6 separate regions of the Homo sapiens genome follow, and regions 1, 2, 4, 5 and 6 are each linked to region 3. Evidence: promoter capture Hi-C in 16 types of primary human blood cells and fetal thymus (Javierre and others, 2016). All regions are on one chromosome and are shown on one strand. The core of a region is centred on a gene start or on the middle of the fragment in contact, and the rest is flanking DNA. Distances in the headings are between cores, read along the strand shown.

Evidence for each region. Contacts are between HindIII fragments. The CHiCAGO score rates a contact against its expected background, and 5 or more counts as called.
Region 1: a fragment that was not itself captured here is called in contact with the fragment with the promoter of CWC15 in region 3 in 1 of 17 cell types (activated CD4 T cells); the score reaches 7.1 in activated CD4 T cells.
Region 2: the fragment with the promoter of MED17 here is called in contact with the fragment with the promoter of CWC15 in region 3 in 1 of 17 cell types (total CD8 T cells); the score reaches 5.2 in total CD8 T cells.
Region 4: the fragment with the promoter of CEP295 here is called in contact with the fragment with the promoter of CWC15 in region 3 in 1 of 17 cell types (neutrophils); the score reaches 5.5 in neutrophils.
Region 5: a contact is called between a fragment that was not itself captured here and the fragment with the promoter of CWC15 in region 3, in 8 of 17 cell types (activated CD4 T cells, naive B cells, non-activated CD4 T cells and 5 more). The highest score is 10.4, in activated CD4 T cells.
Region 6: a contact is called between the fragment with the promoter of TAF1D here and the fragment with the promoter of CWC15 in region 3, in 1 of 17 cell types (neutrophils). The highest score is 6.6, in neutrophils.

Annotation. Positions count from the first base shown.
Region 1 is chr11:96,445,697-96,449,158 of GRCh38, reverse strand. JRKL-AS1 (JRKL antisense RNA 1) reads left to right here. Exons shown (of 5, transcript NR_047481.2): 3 at 1,697-1,810; 4 at 1,916-2,104. Among named protein-coding and RNA genes, the nearest start is that of JRKL, 57 kb to the right of the region's middle. The HindIII fragment of the contact is 2,297 bases long and covers 1,031-3,327 here.
Region 2 is chr11:93,782,893-93,786,396 of GRCh38, reverse strand. MED17 (mediator complex subunit 17) reads right to left here and starts at 2,115. Exons shown (of 12, transcript NM_004268.5): 1 at 1,634-2,115. The coding sequence starts at 1,883. RefSeq lists silencers at 1,383-1,577, 1,579-1,708 and enhancers at 1,839-2,058, 2,000-2,294. The HindIII fragment of the contact is 2,360 bases long and covers 1,114-3,473 here.
Region 3 is chr11:94,972,227-94,975,522 of GRCh38, reverse strand. It overlaps CWC15 (CWC15 spliceosome associated protein), which reads left to right and starts at 1,967. Exons shown (of 7, transcript NM_016403.4): 1 at 1,967-2,025. It overlaps KDM4D (lysine demethylase 4D), which reads right to left and starts at 1,814. Exons shown (of 3, transcript NM_018039.3): 1 at 1,455-1,814. RefSeq lists enhancers at 1,561-1,710, 2,031-2,200, 1,915-2,690. The HindIII fragment of the contact is 9,854 bases long and covers 1-3,296 here.
Region 4 is chr11:93,660,329-93,663,445 of GRCh38, reverse strand. CEP295 (centrosomal protein 295) reads right to left here and starts at 1,764. Exons shown (of 30, transcript NM_033395.2): 1 at 1,672-1,764. RefSeq lists an enhancer at 1,641-1,770 and a silencer at 1,931-2,000. The HindIII fragment of the contact is 3,556 bases long and covers 1-3,046 here.
Region 5 is chr11:96,426,129-96,429,545 of GRCh38, reverse strand. No RefSeq gene overlaps it. Among named protein-coding and RNA genes, the nearest start is that of JRKL, 38 kb to the right of the region's middle. RefSeq lists a silencer at 1,721-1,933. The HindIII fragment of the contact is 4,059 bases long and covers 1-3,417 here.
Region 6 is chr11:93,739,695-93,742,945 of GRCh38, reverse strand. It overlaps TAF1D (TATA-box binding protein associated factor, RNA polymerase I subunit D), which reads left to right and starts at 1,451. Exons shown (of 6, transcript NM_024116.4): 1 at 1,451-1,624. C11orf54 (chromosome 11 open reading frame 54) reads right to left here and starts at 1,274. Exons shown (of 9, transcript NM_001286069.2): 1 at 1,218-1,274. RefSeq lists enhancers at 1-61, 582-701, 468-1,153, 1,282-1,791. The HindIII fragment of the contact is 24,379 bases long and covers 1-3,251 here.

The DNA of each region.
Region 1 (3,462 bases), core at 930-3,429, 1.5 Mb before region 3:
ATGAGTCAATCACAATATATTTATTTAACTTGGATGATCGGGTGCTGGGTAGAGCACTAGATTACTACTTATATATATCTACATATGCCTGAAAAGATGAACATAAAACCAACAGGCTCAGATGGTTCTTTGTTTATTCTAATCACATTTTGCAGGGCTCTGCATCTTTAATTCATCCTTTTATTTACAGTTCCATATTGCTCTTTGTGATATACCAGCTTTTTAACTGACCCCACATTTTTCTTTCTCTTTGTCTTCCCCAGCAAAACATCCATTCATTCTTTAATTCAACAAATATTTAATGATCCCTGCCCATATGAAACTTATATCTTAGCATAGTGAAACAGAAAATAACTAATAGATGTAATAAATAAGTAAAATATACAGTGTGTACAAATTATGACAAGGACTAAGGAAAAAGAAAAGGTACAGGAGATGAGGAGTGTGAGAGGAGAGGGACAGTGTGAATCTCTTTGATAGATTGATATTTGAACAAAGATATAAGGAGGTGATACATCTGACGGAAGAGCATTCTAGACACAGGACACAATGTGCACAAAGACTTTGAGGTGAAAACAGGCCTGGCACGTTTGAGGAACAGCAAAGAGAATAGCATTGCAAGAACTGAGTGAGCAGGAGCCAAGCCAGAGAGCTAATGGGATCACCAGGTACTGAAGGGCTTATAGGCCATTTTAAGGGCTTCTGTTTTTGCACTGAGTGAAATGGGAAGTCACTGCAGGACTCTGAGCAGAGGAGTGAGAAAGACCAGACTCATGTTTTTAAAGAATCAGCCTAGCTGCCGTATATAGGACAGACTGCAGGGTAATGGGGAAAGAAGCCAGAAGGCGAGGCAGGAAGCTATTACAATAATTCAGGATAACAGAAGCTTGATTGACCAAAGGAAGGGGTACTGGTGATGGGGATAAGTGGTTAGATACTAGATATATTTAGAAATTAAGAGAAGTCCGGTCTACTAACCCACCTCTGCCTCAGTTCTTGAGCCAGGGGACGAGAAGTGCATCGGCAAGCTTAGCCTTCAATGGAGAAGGCTGCGGTGCTTTAAATAACATCTTACACGCATAAGCCGTTATTACCTACCAGTAACACTCAGAGTGCATCTTGTAAGACAGGAAATCAAAGCACAGAAATATTAAATGACTTTGGCGAGTAAGTAAAAGAGTTGGGATTATTCTATCTGGCATAGCCAAAGTTGAACTCTGCATGCAGCCTTCATTAAGGCACACATTGCGGACTTGAGATCTGATGAATCAGGGACAAATAGCTACGGCTGGTGCAGCAAGGGTGAACCAGGCTGACCCCTTAAGTGCAGCAGTCCCCAACTCACCACTGAGGCAGAAACACAATAATAAAGCAATGACTGCTAATGAGCTTAATTCTGAAATGAATGAATCTCTGGGCACAAAGTGATTCTATACTGTAATGACCCCTAACTAGAAATACGAAAGTTTTACACACTCCCCTGTGTGCTTAAACTGTGTATGGCACATGATTTAACACTTTCTTAATGACTGGAGACAACGCTATGAACATTCACTGGGGCCCTGGGATCCAAGGAGCAGAGCCACTTAGCTTTAGGGGAGGTTTTGGTGAGGTTCCTTTTTTAAAGAGTATATTGAAGTTTGAAATGAGAAAAAGGGATTAAGTAGCTGGCAGAACATGAGGAGTGTTTTTGCAGCTTTGCCTCGGGAGAGAAAAAGAGAGTCGATTCCGAGTACAGCTGGGCCACTGGGACTGCATTCCTGCCTGTGAGGAGGACAGCCTGTCAATGAGCCAGAAGGGGCTAACAGAGGTAATGCTTCCTTATGATGGGCATTTTCCTGGGGGGAGCCAAAACCATATGTGAGGTTAAAAAAACAAATAAGGGCCCTCCTCTGCTTATAGAATGTGCTTATAGGTTGTACTTACAGGTTCTCAAGTTTTGCTATCATAAACACCCAAAGTACACCACGCCGGCAAGCTGAAGGCTGACAGGATAGAAAACTTGCACAAGACAGTTAACATTGTAGCGATCATCTTGCCAAACAGAGGGCAGCAATGCTTGTGTCTTGGTCGGAAAGGAGTTGGAGTGAAGTCACACAGGCAAGTGTCATTACTTGGTGTTGGGGTTTGACAGCCTGAGAGACCTCGGCAACATTGGAATTTGAAACAGAGGGCTTTAACTCCCAGTTAGAACAGTTTAAAGTCAGCTGGCCATGGTGGTTCACACCTGTAATCCCAGCATTTTGGGAGGCTGAGGCGGGTGGATCACCTGAGGTCAGGGGTTCGAGACCAGCCTAGCCAACATGGTGAAACTCTGTTTCTACTAAAAATACAAAAATTAGCCAGGCATGGTGGTGCACACCTGTAATCCCAGCTATTCTGGAGGCTGTGACAGGAGAATCACTTGAACCTGGGAGGCGGAGGCTGCAGCGAGCCGAGATCACATCACTGCAGTCCAGCCTGGGTGACAGAGTGAGAATTTCTCAAAAAAAATAAATAAATAAATAAAAAATAAGTAAAAAATAGTTTCAGGTCTTCCAAATGACCTCTCATTTGGATTCAGAATCCTATTATTTTTAAATGAATTTTTTTAATTCAATCATGATACATTTCGCTGCTGTAATAGGCAAAATTCTAAGACATTCTAAGACAGCTCCCAAGATTCTCACCCCTGGTGCATACAAACTTTCTCCCAGTTATTCTATTTGATCAAACATTAATCTAGGTGATTATTAATCTATAAAGGATTATACATATATAATTAAGGTCCCAAATTAGTTGCCATTAAGACAGAGAGATTCCCCTCAGTTGGACCTGACTTCATCAGGTGAAAACCTCAAGAGTAGAAGAGATTCAAAGTATGAGGGGAGCTCATTAAGAGAAAGATTCTCCGTTGCTCTCTCTGAAGATAGAAGGGGCCATGTAGCAAGGAATGTGGCTGGGATTAGGATCTGAGAGTAGTTCCCAGCTGACAGCCAGGAGACAAATTGGGACCTCAGTCGTACAACCACAAACAACTGAATTCTTCCAACAACCTGAATAAACTTGGAAGTGGAGGTTCCCGAGAACCTCTAGAAAGTAACACAGCACAGCCAACACTCTGATTTCAACCTGTGAGAACCAGAACAAAGAACACAACAATGCCATGCCTGGAATTTGTATACAGAAGTAAACTAAAAAATGAGTATTGTTTTAAGCTACTGAGTCTATGGCAATTTATTAGAAATCAATAGAAAATGAATACAATTGCTAAAAGCACATTTTGGAAAATAAATCACTAGTAGAACTATATACTTAATAAGATGATTGATATTTCTAAAGGAAGCTTTCCTTTACCTGGACACTTTCCTTCATTTGTGTCATACATCAGAAGATTATATTTTATATATTGGAGTTTCTTAAAGCAAGCTATATTTTTCTTACTTATGTTGCTACTATATGGTAAGCCTAAGACCTAATTTT
Region 2 (3,504 bases), core at 866-3,365, 1.2 Mb after region 3:
GTTCACATTCCTAACCCTGAATATTAACAATCTTTTCAATTTCTGTCAATTTTGTGCATGGAAAGAGTATCTTAATCATGTTTTAATTTCCCAGTCCCTAGTAATGAGATTGAGTCTATGTTCTGTTTATTGGTATCTGAAGTCTCTCCTCTATGAGCCTTCAGATACCTTTGGCCTATTTTTCCAAAGTGTCATTATTTTCTTTTCAGTCTGAAGGGACTTTTTGAATAGAGAAGATATCAACTAAATTTGTGTTATATGTGTAGAACTTCTCCCAGTCTGTCATTTATCTTTTTACTTTGCTTATGGCATCTTTTCCCATTATTTTTAAATTTTATGTAAGTAATATATCTATACTTTGTAAGGTAGGTAGGTGTGTGGTTGTGTGTGTGGATGTTAGAGTCTTGTTCTGTTACCCAGGCTGGAGTGCGGTGGCACAATCATAGCTCACTGCAGCCTTGATCTCACTGGCTGAATCCATCCTCCTCCCTCAGCCTCCCCAGTAGCTGGGACCACAGACGTGCACCACCACGCCCAGCTAATTTTTTTAATTTGTAGAGGCAGGAGCTCCCTATGTTGCTCAGGCTGGTCTTGAAGTCTGGGCTCAAGTGATCCTTCCACCTTGGCCTCCAAAAATGTTGGAACTACAGGTGTGAGCCACCATGCCTGTCCTGTTATTTCCGAAATTAAGAAGATCTATCCGACTCCCAGAATAATACAACTATTCTTTCATTATTTCTTCTAACACTTTGTTTTACTTTCTTCATTTGGCACTTCAATCCTCAAAAATTACTGTGGAAATAATTTTTGTGTGAGGTATAAAGTAGTATTTACCTTTTTTTGCAAATAGACCCCTAATAATCCTAACAGCACTGCCCTGAAATGACATCTTTAAATTCCCATTTACACTGGGTGTGCTGCATAACTAAATTAAGAATTTTGATTTTTTTTTCAAAAATCCTTGACAATAATGAGAATCTGAAACCCACTCATTATTTCTTCACTTCCCTCCTAGTCTCCTCCCTTCCAGTTTTGCTTTCCCTATAATTCATTTATTAGAAAGCATCTAGAGTAAACTTTAACAAAACCATCTCTACTTATCCTGCAAAAGCTTTCAGTGGTCTTAACACTAGTCAAACGCTTATCCCGGCCTACTGGGTTCTACATGATCTGGACCCGCCTACCTCTTGGACCTCGTCACACATTTCAGTCAAAACAGACCTCTTTTCTGCAGGTGCTACTATCATCATTCACACCGCACAAGGATGCAAAGTAACTCGCCCAAGGTCACACAGCCGGCAAGGGGCAGAGCCCCGATCTAGGGCTCTTTTAGCCACTAAGTGTGCTACATTAAAGGCCCTCTACAGAGAAGCATTCATTTAAACATTTCACGGTTTGACAGTGTCTCTAAACGCTGCCATTCAAGGAGACCCGCAGGAGTATTACGTAAAGTCGTGTCCTACCTTGTCCGGCAGCAACAAAAAGATGACGACCAAGTATCCTTACGCTTCCGCTAGAGGGACACTCAAAAGTTCTCGCACGCACAAGATCACCCCCATCGCGGGAGAGGCGGAGGCCCGCGCGGGTGCTGGGACCCAGACCGGGGGACTCGGGCAGCGGATGCAGGCCTTACCTTCCTCGTCGTCCTGGTCTGCGCTGGACCCGGCGCCCGGCCACTCCTGCGCGTCGCCCTCGGTCCCCGCCGCCTCCTCCTCCTCGGAGCCCGAACCCTGGCTGAAGTCTATCCGCTGGGCCAGACGCGCCAGATTCTGCGACATGGACAGCGGGGGCAGGTACGTCTCGGTGCCATCCAGGCCCACCTCATGGACCTGCTTCTCGCAGGCCGATTCGATGCTGATCCGCACTGCGCGCACCCCGGACATGCTGGCTGCGTCGGCCAGCGGTGGGAGGACCCCCCACGAGCCAAAAAACGAGGTACGAAGAGGAGGCTTCCCTGCGGAGAGCCGGGAACTCAGAAGCCCGCAGCCGCGGTGCCTCAGAAGACCCTCGGGAAACCGAACGCAACGCTCAGACTGGAAACAAAGGAGCTGGCCCAGCAACTTTCCCAGAACGCACCGCAAGCTCCCTCCTCGGTAAGTCTTTCGGAGCAAAACTGGGCAGGCGCGGAAGCTCCAGGGTTCCCTAGAGCGCTTCCGGTGAATCACGGTGCAGGGTGGGGTAAACTTCCGGGCCTATAAGAGGCGTGGCCGGCAGAGGGAGGGAAAGAGCGGTTTGGGAGCCGAGAGTGTGGCGGGTATATTCCTTGCTTTTTAAGCCTGCGTTTGTTTAAAAAGTGGATGAGGAAAGAAAGCTGCAGAGGCTAGAAGAGTTAAGGAAAAGGAAATTAATGGATCCTTGGATCTTAGCAATGAGAGTCCTGTTGAGAGAACTGAGATCTGGTGGCGCGCGCCTGTGGTCCAGCTACGCGGGTGGCTGAGGCGGGAGAATGGCTTGAGCCCTGGAGATGGAGGCTGCAGTGAGCCGAGATCTCACCGCTGCATTCCAGCCTAAGCAACAGAGTGGGATCCTGCCTCAAAACAAAAGTTATTTTAAATTAGCAAGAAATTTTTTAAAGAAACACTATCTGAAGAGTTAGAAATTAAGGGCATGGCTTGGGGGAAACAATCGTGCTTATCACCACTTAAAATTATACTACGTAATTATTTGGTTTCCTGTTAGTTATAACTCTATGACAGCCAATATCTGCAGCAGACATAATAGACTCTGGCATGTAGTAAGTGCTTAATATTTATTTTATGCCCGAGTAACAGAATAAATAATGTTGATCTCGCTTTTTTATTAGTGATGGGGTCCCACTATGTTGCCCAGGCTGAGTGCAGAGGTTATTCACAAGTGCTGTCAGCACGCTACAGCCTGGAGCTCCTGGGCTCCAACGATGCTCCTGCCTTAGCCTCCTGAGGAGCTGGGACTATAGGAGCGTGTCACCATGCCTGGCCTGCAAATAATATTTAAAAGATTAAGAAGAAGTGGTATAACTTCAGTCTTTGGGTCTCCAAGAACGTATTTCATTAGTAGGAATTCCACAGACAAAGATGGATTATTTTATATTACAAACCTCTATATTTCGTTTAAGGAATTATATATACCGTTTATCATGAGTGTTTGCCAGGTTTTGTTCTGACCAAGATATATCTAGGTTTTGAACTACTTTCCTAAGGTATTTAGGAAAATACGGTTGCCCTGGTGTCAGTCCCTGCTGAAGAAGAAAGTAGATGGCCGTGTGTGGAGGGGGTTGAATTTTCATGAGAGAAACCTATTTCTGGCAAGCTGTACAGTCTGTCGCCCAATCATGTTCGAGAACCACTGTACTTGCTTTTCGTGTAAATTTGTTTAAAAATTTTTTTTAACTTTATTTTAAAATCTGATTAATAGCCAGGCGCAGTGGCAGTCTAATAGTGCAGACAAAAACAAGACAACAACAAATGATTATGATTCCTAGAATAAGCAAAGCTTTTGCCACCAAGTCTTCAAGATCAAAACTAG
Region 3 (3,296 bases), core at 718-3,217:
TAGAGTAGTATTACAAGTTAGGGACTAGAATTACGCCCATTTTACACGTGAGGAAACTGAAAGCACAGAAAGGGAAAATGACTTGCCTAAGGTTATAGAGCTAGGAAAGGGCAGAACTGGAATTTAGAACAAAAATGGGCAGGCTGAAGATCCTTTTCTCTTAATGACCTTCGCATGCTGTCTCCTGAGAGACATGGAAATAAAAAATGAATAGAATAGACTCTGGTAATGTTTAGTGGTATGAAAAATGAAACAGGGTGATGTGATGGTGTACAAACACAAGTGTTGGAGGGGTGGGGGTAGGAAAACCTCACTGTGATACCTGAGACATGAAGGATGGTGATACAGTTACTTTGGGGCACAGGCAACAGAGAAAAGCTAGTGCAAAGGCCCTAAAATAGAAGGAATCTTGCCCTGTTTTATAAAACAGAAATGCCCACTTGGCTGTGTCTAGAGCTTAGTGCGTAAGCGAGTGACTGATTGGAAGTGAAGTCTGGAAGGTAGGCAGGAACCAGACTCCGTGGGGTCTCAGGTCACATTAAGAAATGTGATTTTTATTCTAAGTGCAGTGAAATTGTACACAGGATAGTAACACCATTTTATTAATTTTAAAAGATCACTCTCTTGGCTATATGCAACACTGACTGTAGGATAAAAGATGACGCAGGAAGATATAATAGGAAGCAATTACAATCCAGGTAGGAGATGGTGTTGGCAAAGGCAAGGGTAGTGGCAGTAGAATAAAATTGCGGGTGAGTTTTAAAAGTAGAATTGTTAAGACCTGTAAATGAACCGTATGTGAAGAGTGAATGAAAAGGAATTTAAGTAGGCACTCCGGGATTTTGGTTTGAGTAACTAGCATGATGATCGCGTCTTTTAGTGAGACTTGTTAAGACTGGAGGAGGGATACCTTCGGTAAGAAAAATCAGGATTTTCATCTTGAACTCTATGACTGAAAGGGCTTTTTCTGCTTTTCTTTCTTCATTAAAAAGTTGCAAAGAATTTAGGGGTAAGAAAGCATTTAAATATTCAATTTTGTGAGTTCCTTACATTTTAAACTAAGTTGGGGAAGTTGAATTTTCATTTGTTTAACAAATATTAATTGAGCAGCTACTATACGTCAAGGTCTATGTGATGAGATACCAAGATGAGCTAAACAACCAAGATCTCTATTCTCAGAATTTGTTTTTATGGAAGGGAGGAGAGACGACTGGTAGGTTTTTGGTTTTCGGGTTTTCTACTTTTCGTTGTCTTATTAAAACTTAACACTTAAGTAGCCATCTTAATAATTACATCTTGTGCTCCTGGTAGTTGGGCCCACCATTGTAAACGCTCTCGTAAATACTGACATCTCCCCTCCCACTAAAACTAACGTTTTTTAAATAAGAAATTTTAGCAAACATTACGAATACAACCTTTGCTTTGAAGTGTTAATATTTTTGCAGGAATGGTACCTTTGTAAAGATCGTGGTTGCCCCGTACATATTTGTTCTTTCTTCATATCCAATTAAATGAAAACACTAGTTTTTCCGAAGCCCAACTCTCTAGGTTTGTTGGTTCTAGCTCAGGAGAAAGGATGGAAGCAGGAGTCGTTGGATTTAAACAGTTTGGTGTAATCCTTTTCCACGCTCTCTCCCGCTAGCCGGGGACGTGGTGTCGGCTACCCGGGGCTTTCCGTCCACGCAGTACCGGAATGAAGGAGTCTGGGAGGGGGTCGGGGACGGAAAAGACGGAAGAGACATTAAGTAATTGGTTCTTGAAGGTATAAAATGAGGTTTAGGGTCTACTCTAAGGCACTGATTTCAAACGCCCGCCCCCTGGGCCGCTTCGGCCCCGCCCCTTAGTGCCGTTACGCCGACTTCCACTTCGGCCACTGCGGATTGGTCGTTGCTTCCGCCCCCGAAGCGCTTGGATTTTGCTTCCGGGTCGTAGGCGCTAGCTCTGGGCGCAGAGGTTTCTGGGAGCCAAGAGTGGTAATGGCGTCTGTATGATCTTCGGAGCCTGCTGCATCGGACCTCGGCCAGTGTGAGCGGCAAGAGGATAGGAGATTATCTTTCTTATCGCGATGGGACGGGAAAGGGCAGTTGGGGTCGGAGTCGGCGGCAGAGTGCAGAGCGCGGGCGGTGGAGGCCCTGGAGCAGCGGGCTAGGGGCGGAACCGAGTGCCTGTCAGGCGCGTCTGGAGCTCTTGGGCCCGCCGAGGAGATCGCAGCGTACAGGCAGCTCGCCTACTGCGTAAAGCGAACCCCAGGTCCTCCCTTCACTACCCTTCGCACCCCTGCAGTGCTGGGCACGGGTGAAGAGGCAGCGAGTTTCTGGTTATAGCCAAAGACTAGCTCACGGGAGGCCGGAGTGATAATTCCGTGGGTGTGTGGGAAGGGGCGGCGCCCCCAGCGCCAGATAACCCTGTTTTCTTCTTTGTATACATGTCTCTACCCTTTTTGAAAGTTGAGAGAATTAGCATCGCCCCCCCCCCAAAAAATCCTCCCAATTCGCCCACCCTCCCCACACACTTGCTTTTCCGACACTAACAGGGTTTTAGTGACTGCATCTGCTGCACAGTATTCTTGTGACTGCTCCAAGCAGAAAGTAACTTGAGGAATGAGTCCCTGATTTTTGGCATCAGAATCCTCTGGGGGTGAGGTTCCTGTTTTTTTTGAACAGGCCTTAAATTATAACCCACAAACGATCTAATTTATAGTATGATGCCTGTTGTAGGAGAAAATTGGCTCAACAAACGGTTGTTTAAGAATTTTTTTCTGTGTAACTGTCATTGAAGTTTAACACACTTTTCTCTGGGACATTTAGTAACTTTGTCAGTGATATTTTTTGTTTGTTTTTAGCTTTTGTTTCTACTAGCCTATTTGCTATTGTGTGAAGTTTAGATAAAATGCAAACCTTACAGAGTCTGGTAGAGTAAGGTTGAGTTGGAAATTTTTAAAACTCAGTCATGGCAGTACTGTATTTTACTAGGGTTTTGACATGTCAAGTGTCATAATTCTTATAATCTATGAGGAATATCTCCATTCCACAGATGACAAAGTTAAGCCAGGTGACTTGCTCAAGCCCATATAGTCAGAAGGAGAATAGGGATGCAAACTCAGATCTTCATGACAGAATTTTTTGTACTAAGGCAAGCCTGAGAAGCCATATTCCTTGTACAGCCTAAGCCTCATAATTTGTTTTCTTGAAAACTTTTGTTTAAGAAGATTAAGCAGGTTTTGGGGAATGAGTTTTAGAACTTATTTTACCAGTATGGATATTGATTAATACTCTATAAAATGAGTGTTTGTAATG
Region 4 (3,117 bases), core at 515-3,014, 1.3 Mb after region 3:
CTGTGTGTCATCTAAAAAGCAGACGCTAAGATGGGAGTAAACCTGCAAATATTTTATTAGGAGAAATGCGTGTGTGAGGGAAAATGGGAGGGAGCTGATAAAAGTTACAAGCGCCTCAGACTTCAGTGTAAGTCTAACACTGAATGGAGGGAAGTAACAATGGGTAGACCCCTCTTAGACAGCCATGCAGTATAAGAAATGTTCAGCAAGAACCCGTGGGGAGATTCTCAGGAACAGGCCTGCCACTGTCAGTGGCTAGGAGCAGCCCATGGGAAGCATGGCCTCAGTGCAAATGGAGATTTCAGAATGCAGGAGATTAAGATATGTGAGTTACATTCTCATGTCAAAGTTGTCATGTCCCCCTTAATCTGGGACAGTTTCTCAGTCTGTCTTTTCAAGACCCTGTCATTTTTGAAAATACTGGCCAAGTACTTTGTTGAATGTCCCTCCATTTAGATTTGTCTAATCTTATGTGATTAAACTGAGGTTATGTATTTTTGGCAAGAACACCACAGAATTGATTAGGCACCTTTTCAGTGCATTGTTATCAAGAGGTAAATGATGCTGAATTTTGGTCACTTGGTTAAGATGATGTCCACCAGGTTTCTCCTCTGTAGTTACTACTTTTCCTTTATAAATATCTCATGAAGACAGAGTAGAGGCTACAGAAATATGCTTTTCATCATACTTTTGCCCATTGACGTTAGTATCCATTGATGACTGTTGTCTGAAACAACTACTGTGGTGTTTACCAAATAGTATTTTCTATTTCCATTATTCCTTCTACAATTATCAATCGGAATCCTGCTGTAAGGAAGTTTTCCCTGCTGCCCCATTTACTTGTTTATTAATTATTTATTCTTAGTAATATGGATTTTTAAATTCTACATTTTATTACTATCCAATATTGAAGATTATACTACTTATCTTGCAAGATTTCGTCCTGAGGATTAAATGGCTCCTGGTACATAGTAATCACAAAATTAACACTAAACTTGGAAGATCTGGGTTCAAGACCCAACACTGCCACTTATTAGCAGGAAGATACTGGCCAAGTCACTGAAGTCACTTTGGTTTCGTTTTCTTAAACTGTATAAAGGGAATAATAATATCTACCCCAAAAGGTTTGTTCTGACGTCTATGTGACTTAGCGTGAAGTCTTCAAATACACTCTAAGTATTAAGGACTCAAAAGTTCACCATTGTTTTAAAAGTTGAGTTTGTGACAGGATTGAATAACTGTGAGATTAAGGTGGCAGACACCAAAAGAGAGCGTGCTCTTTGCATGAAACGATCCAGGCAAGGCTCTTTTAACAGCTACCAGGTGGCAGGCCATGTCCGCGGGTGATCTGGGGGAAGCGCCCCTCCCCCGACACGGAAGCTCCGCGACAGGGGAGGCTGCGTGGGAAGCTCGCGCGACCCGACCCCAGGAGAGCGCGCAAAGCCTCTCGCACTGAGTTACCGGGTCTGGTCCGGACACTCCTTACAGCCGCCAGCCCGACCGCGGGCAGGGCCCACGGCCTGCGGAGCCTGAGAAACGCGAGCCGTACCTGCGTTCGCAACAAGGCGCCTTCCTGGGATCCCATTCCTCCGGAATACAATCCCAGCTCTTGGGCCTCGGGGAGTCATGCTCCTACGGGGCGACTGGGAAGCCAGTGCATCCCTGACTCACCTGAGAACCCGGGGCCTGGACACAGTAACCGCAGCTCAGAGCAAGCCAGCCTGGTAAGCTCCTGCCCATCAGCTGCCCAGCAGCCGTTTCTGCGCCTGCGGGAGAGCCATCGCCGAGCCGCCGTCACTTCCGTCATTCAAACCGCCCGCCAATGGCCGGACCAAACCGCGGGAATAGGCCCTGTCCCGCCTTCCTCGGGGGCCGCCGGGAAGGCTGCGCGGTGTTAAAAACCCCGCGCCCCGCGCACGCGCACAGGCACGCGCCAGCCCCAGCCTGCCTAGGGGCCCATTATTTGTCACACCTGTCAGGCTTTGACGTTTTCCCGTATGGGCCGCGCTCGGTGGCTCGCGCCTGTAATCCCAGCACTTTGGGAGGCCAAGGCGGGAGGATCACTTGAGCCCAAGAGTTCGAGGTTATGTATTTTTGGTTATGAGTTCAAGACCAAGTCCTTTTAAAAACATGGTGAAACCTCATCTTTACAAAAAATACGACAACAGCAAAAATTAGCCGTGCGTGGTGGTGGGCGCCTGTAATCCCAGCTACTCGGGAGGCTGAGGCAGGAGAATCGCTTGAACCCAGGAGGTGGAGGTTGCAGTGAGCCGAGATCCCGCCAGTACTGCACTCCAGCCTGGGCGACAGAGCCAAAGCCTGTCTAAAAAAAAAAAAAAAAAGTGCAGAGCCATGAGGGTGACTTTTGTTTTAAGGCCCCATCATGAAGATATCTTGGGATATGCATCCTTTTCTGTACTGACTACGGAATTCATTGGTACTATTATGCGCAGTTAACGTCTTATAGCTTTCATTTAAGGCCTCCAGCTCATAACAACAATGAGCCGTATGTTACCCTGTGCCTCCAGAGGTACAGCGCACGGAGAGCACCTCACGGATTTATCTGCTGTAAATAACCAATAATCAGGCGGTGAGCACAGGTTAATACCTATTGAGTATCTGTTATGTGCCGAGTACATTATGTTACTCTGGATGGATTATGATGCCTATACTAGATTTTGCAGTCTGGGTCATGGGGGTTAAACATCAGGAATCAAAGGATTAAAAATGGGGGGTGGGGATGGGAAGTTGCTGACACGATCAGATCTGGCTGCACAGTGGGGAAAAGGTCAGAGAGAGTGAAGACAGAAGGCCGTATACTACTACAGAAAGTGAAAGATAATAGCAATGAGAATGGAGAGAGGTGAGTAGATTGAATAGGAAGCCAAACATCAGGAATTGGTGGTTACCTGGTTATGGGAGGCACAAGAGGAGAAAACAAGGGTGATGCCCAAGTCCCAGATACCTAGCACCTGGGTAGATAGTGATAACATCCTCCTGGAACACACATGAAGAGAACCAGGAGGGAGAAGTAATAAGTTAAGCTTTGAATATTTTGAATTTGAGCTGTTTATGAGATATCTAGACAAAGGGATGCATTTCAGAAACTTAGGACAC
Region 5 (3,417 bases), core at 239-2,738, 1.5 Mb before region 3:
CATACTTGGAAAATCTGCCTTTCTAAGATTATGTAACCATTTATTTTCTTCTATTAATTTTGTTATTTCAATTTTTAATAGCTAAAATATTAACCCATCTGGAATTTGGATGGTGTATGGAATAGGTAAGAATCTAAATTTTTTTAACGATGGATCAATTGTTACAAAATTAGTTTGTATCAAACTCATTCTTTTCTCACCAATTTAGAATATTACTTTCATCATATATGAAATTCTTAAATATAACTTTTTATGGGGTTTCTAATCTCATTGAACTGTCTTTCTCTTCCTCTGCCAATACCAGGTGATTTTAATTTTAATTGTGTTTGTCTTTACTCATCTTCTTTCTTCATTTTCCTCAGAAAAAAAGGTTTAGCTCTTCTCTAAAATTTAATTATTAAAATTAACTTTAGAGCCACGTTGCAAAGTTGGGATTCCAATGGGAATTGCATTCTATTTGTGTAGTAATCTGAGGAGAATTTACTTCTTTACAATATTAATATTTCACACCCAAGAACATCCACTTAATCAAGATTCTTTTATGTTCCTCTACTTATTTTGTAGTTCTCTTCAAGAAAGACTTGAACCTTTTCATGAGAGTTATTCCTAAATATTTTCTAACTAAATTTTAAAAAGAGTTAAGATCTTGGTAATCCTGTCCTAATTTCTAAATATGGTCTATGTGCTTCAGCTATAGTCTCCTACACAGTGGTTCTTAAGAACTCTAAACCCTGAGATGAGGGGGAAAATCAATTGTACATCAAAATAGTAAATACTTGGTAATGAAGCAGTGTTACAGATTTTTATTCCGTCATTTCTAAATTTTCTTTATCTTTATATTTAAAAATAAGTTTAACATGTGAATGAGAGACCTATCACTTAAGACCCAAAACTCCCACACTTTCCATTTATGTCAATATATTATACATAGGTGTAGGCACCAAAAATTTTTGTGGTTAGTCACCCAAACTAGATTATAAAGGCTTTAATATTTCCCTGCACCTTTTATTCGTTATTCTTCATGGCTCCTAGTACAATATCATGAAAATAGTAAATGCCCAGTTGATGCCTCCTCAAGGAGTTATCAAGTGAATTGAGTGACTAAAGCAGAAGATGGAAAGAACTACAAAATTTGATGTGGCACATCAAAATAACTTGCGCACTGTTTTGTTTTTAAATTATAATTCTTGTAGGCATGTCTATGTCTTCAACTAGACTATAAGTATGTTGTCACTAGGAGCTGTATCTCATATTCCCTTTATGTATTCTCATATTCCCATCAGAACAACTTAGGGACAAATCATGGATTGATTAAAAATAAAACTTCATATGCTAAAGAACCAAAACCACATAAAAATGTCAAAGAAGACAAAATAGAGAATACATCTGCATCCTAAACAAGCATTTTTAGAGCCATTACCCACATTTTAAATAGGCCAAAGTGTCTCAGTCTGAGGAAAAGGATTATAGCAAAGCAAGCATTGTTTTTGGTGGTGGCAGTAGTCTTCACTTTTTGTTATATTAGAAAGTGCAAGACAATAGTCAGGCGTGGTGGCTCACGCCTGTAATCCCAGCACTTTGGGAGGCCTAGGCAGGTGGATCATTTGAGGTCAGGAGTTCGAGACCAGCCTGACCAATATGGTGAAACCCCATCTCTACTAAAAATACAAAAAGTTAGCTGAGCGTGGTGGTGGGCACCTGTAATCCTAGCTACTTGGGAAGCTGAGGCAGGAGAATCGCTTGAACCCAGGAGGCAGAGGTTGCAGTGAGCCGAGATTGTGCCACTGCCCTCCAGTCTGGGCAACAGAGCGAACTCCGTCTCAAAAAAAAAAAAAAAGAAAAGAAAAGAAAAGAGAAGAAAAAGAAAAAGAAAAAGAAAGAAAAAAAAAGTGCAAGAAAGTAACAAGAATGTTTGTCATTTTTTAAAAATGAAACCTCGGCCGGGCGCGGTGGCTCACGCCTGTAATCCCAACACTTTCGGAGGCCGAGGTGGGCAGATCACGAGGTCAGGAGATCGAGACCATCCTGGCTAACACAGTGAAACCCCATCTCTACTAAAAATACAAAAAATTAGCCGGGCGTGGCGGCAGGCGCTTCCCAGCTACTCGGGAGGCTGAGGCAGGAGAATGACCTGAACCCAGGAGGTGGAGCTTGCAGTGAGTCCAGATCGCGCCACTGCACTCCAGCCTGGGCGACAGAGCGAGACTCAGTCTCAAAAATAATAATAATAAAATAAAATAAAAAATGAAACCTCTAGACAATATATTGTAGAACAGATAGATACAAATGCGGGTCATCTCTTTGTTTTTGCTGAGTCTGATAACATTAAGGTGAACACTGAACAGCCATCTGCTAAGTAATTAAACCTGCCGCTTATTAATGTAACTCTTGTATTAGTTCAGCATTGATGAACAATTTAATGGGTTGAGAAATTGCAGATTCAATTTCCTGTGTCACTACTCTCTCGTGTTCCCATAATCAAGTTAGATATGTTTTTACCCAAAACTATGTTAAATCAAAATAGTGTTAAAAAGAAGAGTCAATATTCTGATATACCACAAGATGGGGATGTTACTCCATCTTAAATGTCCCCATTGCCCTGCTCCCGCATCCCAACCCCTGTTTTGTTTCAAGATATTTAAAACTCTCCTGAAGACTAAATTTGGGTTTTCTTTCTCAAAAATTAAGATTTCAGATCATCTATGTTTCCAAATGAAGTTAGAATCAAACCATCTATAAAACAAAATGGAAACAGGGATATCCACTTTAAAATGTGTCAGGGATACACGCTTTAAAATGAGTGTATCTTTGTTTTTCTGCAGATTATATGCATTTGAATTTTGAACGGAGCTTCATGGTGGGCGTGTGTGTGTGTGTGCGTGTGTGTGTGTGTTTTATTCCGCAGGTGCTTGTTATCCTGTCTCTTCATCCACATGAAAGCCTCCTACATAGTAATTTTGTGAGTCCCTGTAATTGTCTCTCCCTTTTAGCTGTGCTAGTTCACATTTGCAACTCCAGTATGAAGTGAGTATGTGTGTTTGCGTTTCTTTGTCTTGTGAACATGTGACTGTGTCATCCTTTGTTTCTATTCTTCCTTATCTCTTCTGTTTTTCCATTTAAAAAAATCTTAATACAGCAAAGGTATCTGGTAGTCTATAATGATGCTAAAAAATTTCTTTCCTTTCACCCACTATGTCTCTCCATAATAGTCACTAAAGGTCTGATTTTTAAAATTAGTTGTTATTATCAAATTGAATTAGGAAATGAGAATATTTTATATGTTTTATATGCTCCCTGGTGTGTCTTGCATGTATGTGTGTATGTTTATTGATTTTTTTATTCCTCTGGGTGCTTTGTATTTAATATAAGAGGGGTTCCTTATTCAATTGTTTTACATACTCCCTGGACACTGACTTA
Region 6 (3,251 bases), core at 202-2,701, 1.2 Mb after region 3:
AATGTTCCTTCCCTTTAATAGCACTTTTCCCCTTCTTTTTGAACAAGGGACGCTGCATTTTCATTTTGCATTGAGCCTCACAAATTACACAGCTAGGCTTGCTGCTGAATACGGCAGTGAGGGACATGCCATACCAGTCCTGGAGCTTCGTCATTGCCCAGACCCTGTGGATCAAATGCAGTGGGCTGCCTAAAGGATCGGACTTTTTATCCCCGGAATTGTCCAAACTATGGAGCAAAGCAGGTAAAGAGACCAGATTACTTTTAAGGCCCGTTCAATCCTAAAATGTGAACTATAAAATAAGACTAGACAGCTTTACTGATTTTTGTGGTTTATCATATGAAAACAGAATTTTGAAAGCGGAAAAATCAAACCAGTTCATTCCTTTTTAAAATTACTTTGGGAGGCCGAGGCGGGAGGATCACCTGAGGTCGGGAGTTTGAGACCAGCCTGACCAACATGGAGAAACCCCCGCCTCTACTAAAAATGCAAAAATTAGCTGGGCATGGTGGCGCACGCCTGTAATCTCAGCTACTGGGGAGACTGAGGCAGGAGAATCGCTTGAACCCGGGAAGCAGATGTTGCGGTGAGCCAAGATCGCACCGTTGCACTCCAGCCTGGGCAACAAGAGCGAAACTCGGTCTCAAAAAAAAAAAAATTACTTTGGGAGAAAAAAACCCCACCAAAACTAAACTAGTTTACACTGTTTAATCTTAACTCAGGAACCGGTCAAGGAACTAATGGTGTGGGGCAGGGGGGATGTAGGAGGAAACTTAGGAAAAACAAATCCTCCACAGGTCTCACTTGTGACATGTTAGCCAACTCCTGGGAGGCAGAAAGGGTGAGCTTACGAAACAGGTGCAAAAGTGGGGAGGAGACCTGGGCGTGCTATGGAATAACACTGGCGTCCAGCACAAAGGTTACACACTTCGAGTCATGGTCAAAGAATGAGCCTTCTCCAATATTTTAACACACAAGGGTTTCTGAAGGCAGAAATAGACAAAGGATTACAAAACACTCAGGCACACATCCCACCCGTCACCCTCGCCACACACCCGGGACCAGATTTAGAAAGCCAGGCGACAGCTCAGCAAACGCGAGACCACCGGAAACGAACCGGGCTGAGAGGCTGTTTCCTCACAGTTCTCATCCACTCACAAGTGACCGCACGTTTTGTTTTTGTTATTTGCCGAAATGTTCTTGGCTATTCCACTCACCTAAACGGTCACGGTAGCAAAACACCCAGAGTCCGGATCTTCGCCTAGGCCAACCCCGCCTCCTCAGAATACGCGAGCTAGAGCTCCGCCCACGTTAGTCAGTCCTCCCTGCGCGGCGAGAAAAATGGCGCCCCCACGTCGCGTCTCCTCCCACCGCTCGCCTTCTTCCCGGAAGCTAAGTTGTATCGCGAGATTTCGGCCTGACTATTACTTGGGCCACGGAAATAGCCAACCCTTTTCTTCCGCACGGTTGGAGGAGGTCGGCTGGTTATCGGGAGTTGGAGGGCTGAGGTCGGGAGGGTGGTGTGTACAGAGCTCTAGGACACCAGGCCAGTCGCGGGTTTTGGGCCGAGGCCTGGGTTACAAGCAGCAAGTGCGCGGTTGGGGCCACTGCGAGGCCGTTTTAGGTAGGTTGCTAAGAGGGCGAGGCCGTCCGGGCCTGGCGGGCGGGGGAGGCGTTGCATATCTGGGGTTTCCCGGGGCCCCTTCGTTGGTCCGGAGGATCGAGACTCCGAAGTCGGTCCGAGAGGGTGAAGGGATCACGGCCGCAGGCCACTCCGCGCCACGCGGCTGGTATGAGTCCCACACAAACGTGGTTGTAGTGTGGACGGGCTTCATTATATCTTGAGATGGAGGTGTTAAATCGTGTTGCGGACAAGTTTAACCTTATTACGTGATTTAAATGATTTAACCTTCGTATGTGAGGTACCCATTACTCGCGCCGGTTTTCTGCAGGTTAGGCGCTGCCGGGTGAGAGGCGCTGGTGGTCACAGCGTTAGCTCCGGGTAAAGCGCCGCTCTCTGCCCACGTGGCCTCTAAGAATTGCAGAATCCCCACGGAGGCATCGACACCCAAGTAGGAGTGTCTTCTAAACACTTCGAAAAAGTGATTATTGAGCTAGCTTTATTTTGATAATCCCTACTTTTAAAAAAAATTAACTACAGGTATACCGTTAAAGCATGGGGGCAAATTTTTGTTGAATTCCGTTTTTGAGCATTCGATATTTAATGACTTTGTAGAATCTTGTACTTAAAAAAACTAGTAAGACCTTGTACCAGGAAAATACCACAGGGGGCATTTAACAAATCTGAGCTCTTGGTGACCTTATCGTTTCATATTTTAAATATTTTGCTAGTTCATCCTAGGATTTATATGTAATGACTCATGTCAGGTCCCAAGAAGCTACAGAATGAGACAAGAGATTGACTAAGGCATGTACAATAATGAAATAAGTAGTTATCTTTAATTTTTGTTGCCATGCCTTTTTTTTTTTTTTTTTTTTTTTTTTTTTTTTTCCTGAGACAGGGTCTTGCTCTGTCGTCCAGGCTGGAGTGCAGTGGTGCAATCTCGGCTAACAGCAACCTCCACCGCGGCTTAAGCGATCCTCCCGAGTGGCTGGGAGCAAAGGCACGGGCCAACACACCTAGCCAGTATTTTAAGAATTTTTTGTAGAGACAAGGGTCTCCTTGTGTTGCTGAGGCTCACTACATACAAGCTCCACCTCCCAGGCTCAGGTATTCCACCTACCCCAGCCTCCTGACCACAGGCGCGCGCCACTATTCTGGCTAATTTCCGTATTTTTTGTAGAGACGGAGTTTCACCACGTTGCCCAGGTTGGTCTTGAGCTCCTGGGCTCAAGCGATCCGCCCGCCTCGACCTCCCAAAGTGCTGTGTTACACAGGCCTGAGCCACCCAGACCAACCTGTTTTTCTTTTTTCTTTTAGCTCACAAGAAGGAATCTTTTTCTTTTTTTTTTTTTTTTTTTTTGGTATGTTGTATACTCTCTACCATGGGGATGAAGACACAAGAATTATGATAGTTCATTGAAAAAGGTTGAGAATTCAGAACTTGTCAGTTTCCACCAATAATGGCAAAGATACAATATGACAAAGTTCAGTTGCTTAAATGAATCTAGGAATGAAGAATCTAGGAATTATAATGGAGAGGTGATTAGGAGTTTAAAATGGTTTATTGATTGGAGATCCTTTTCCTGGTTTATATAGGGCACACTTTGCTTTAGGAATTCCCCCTTTG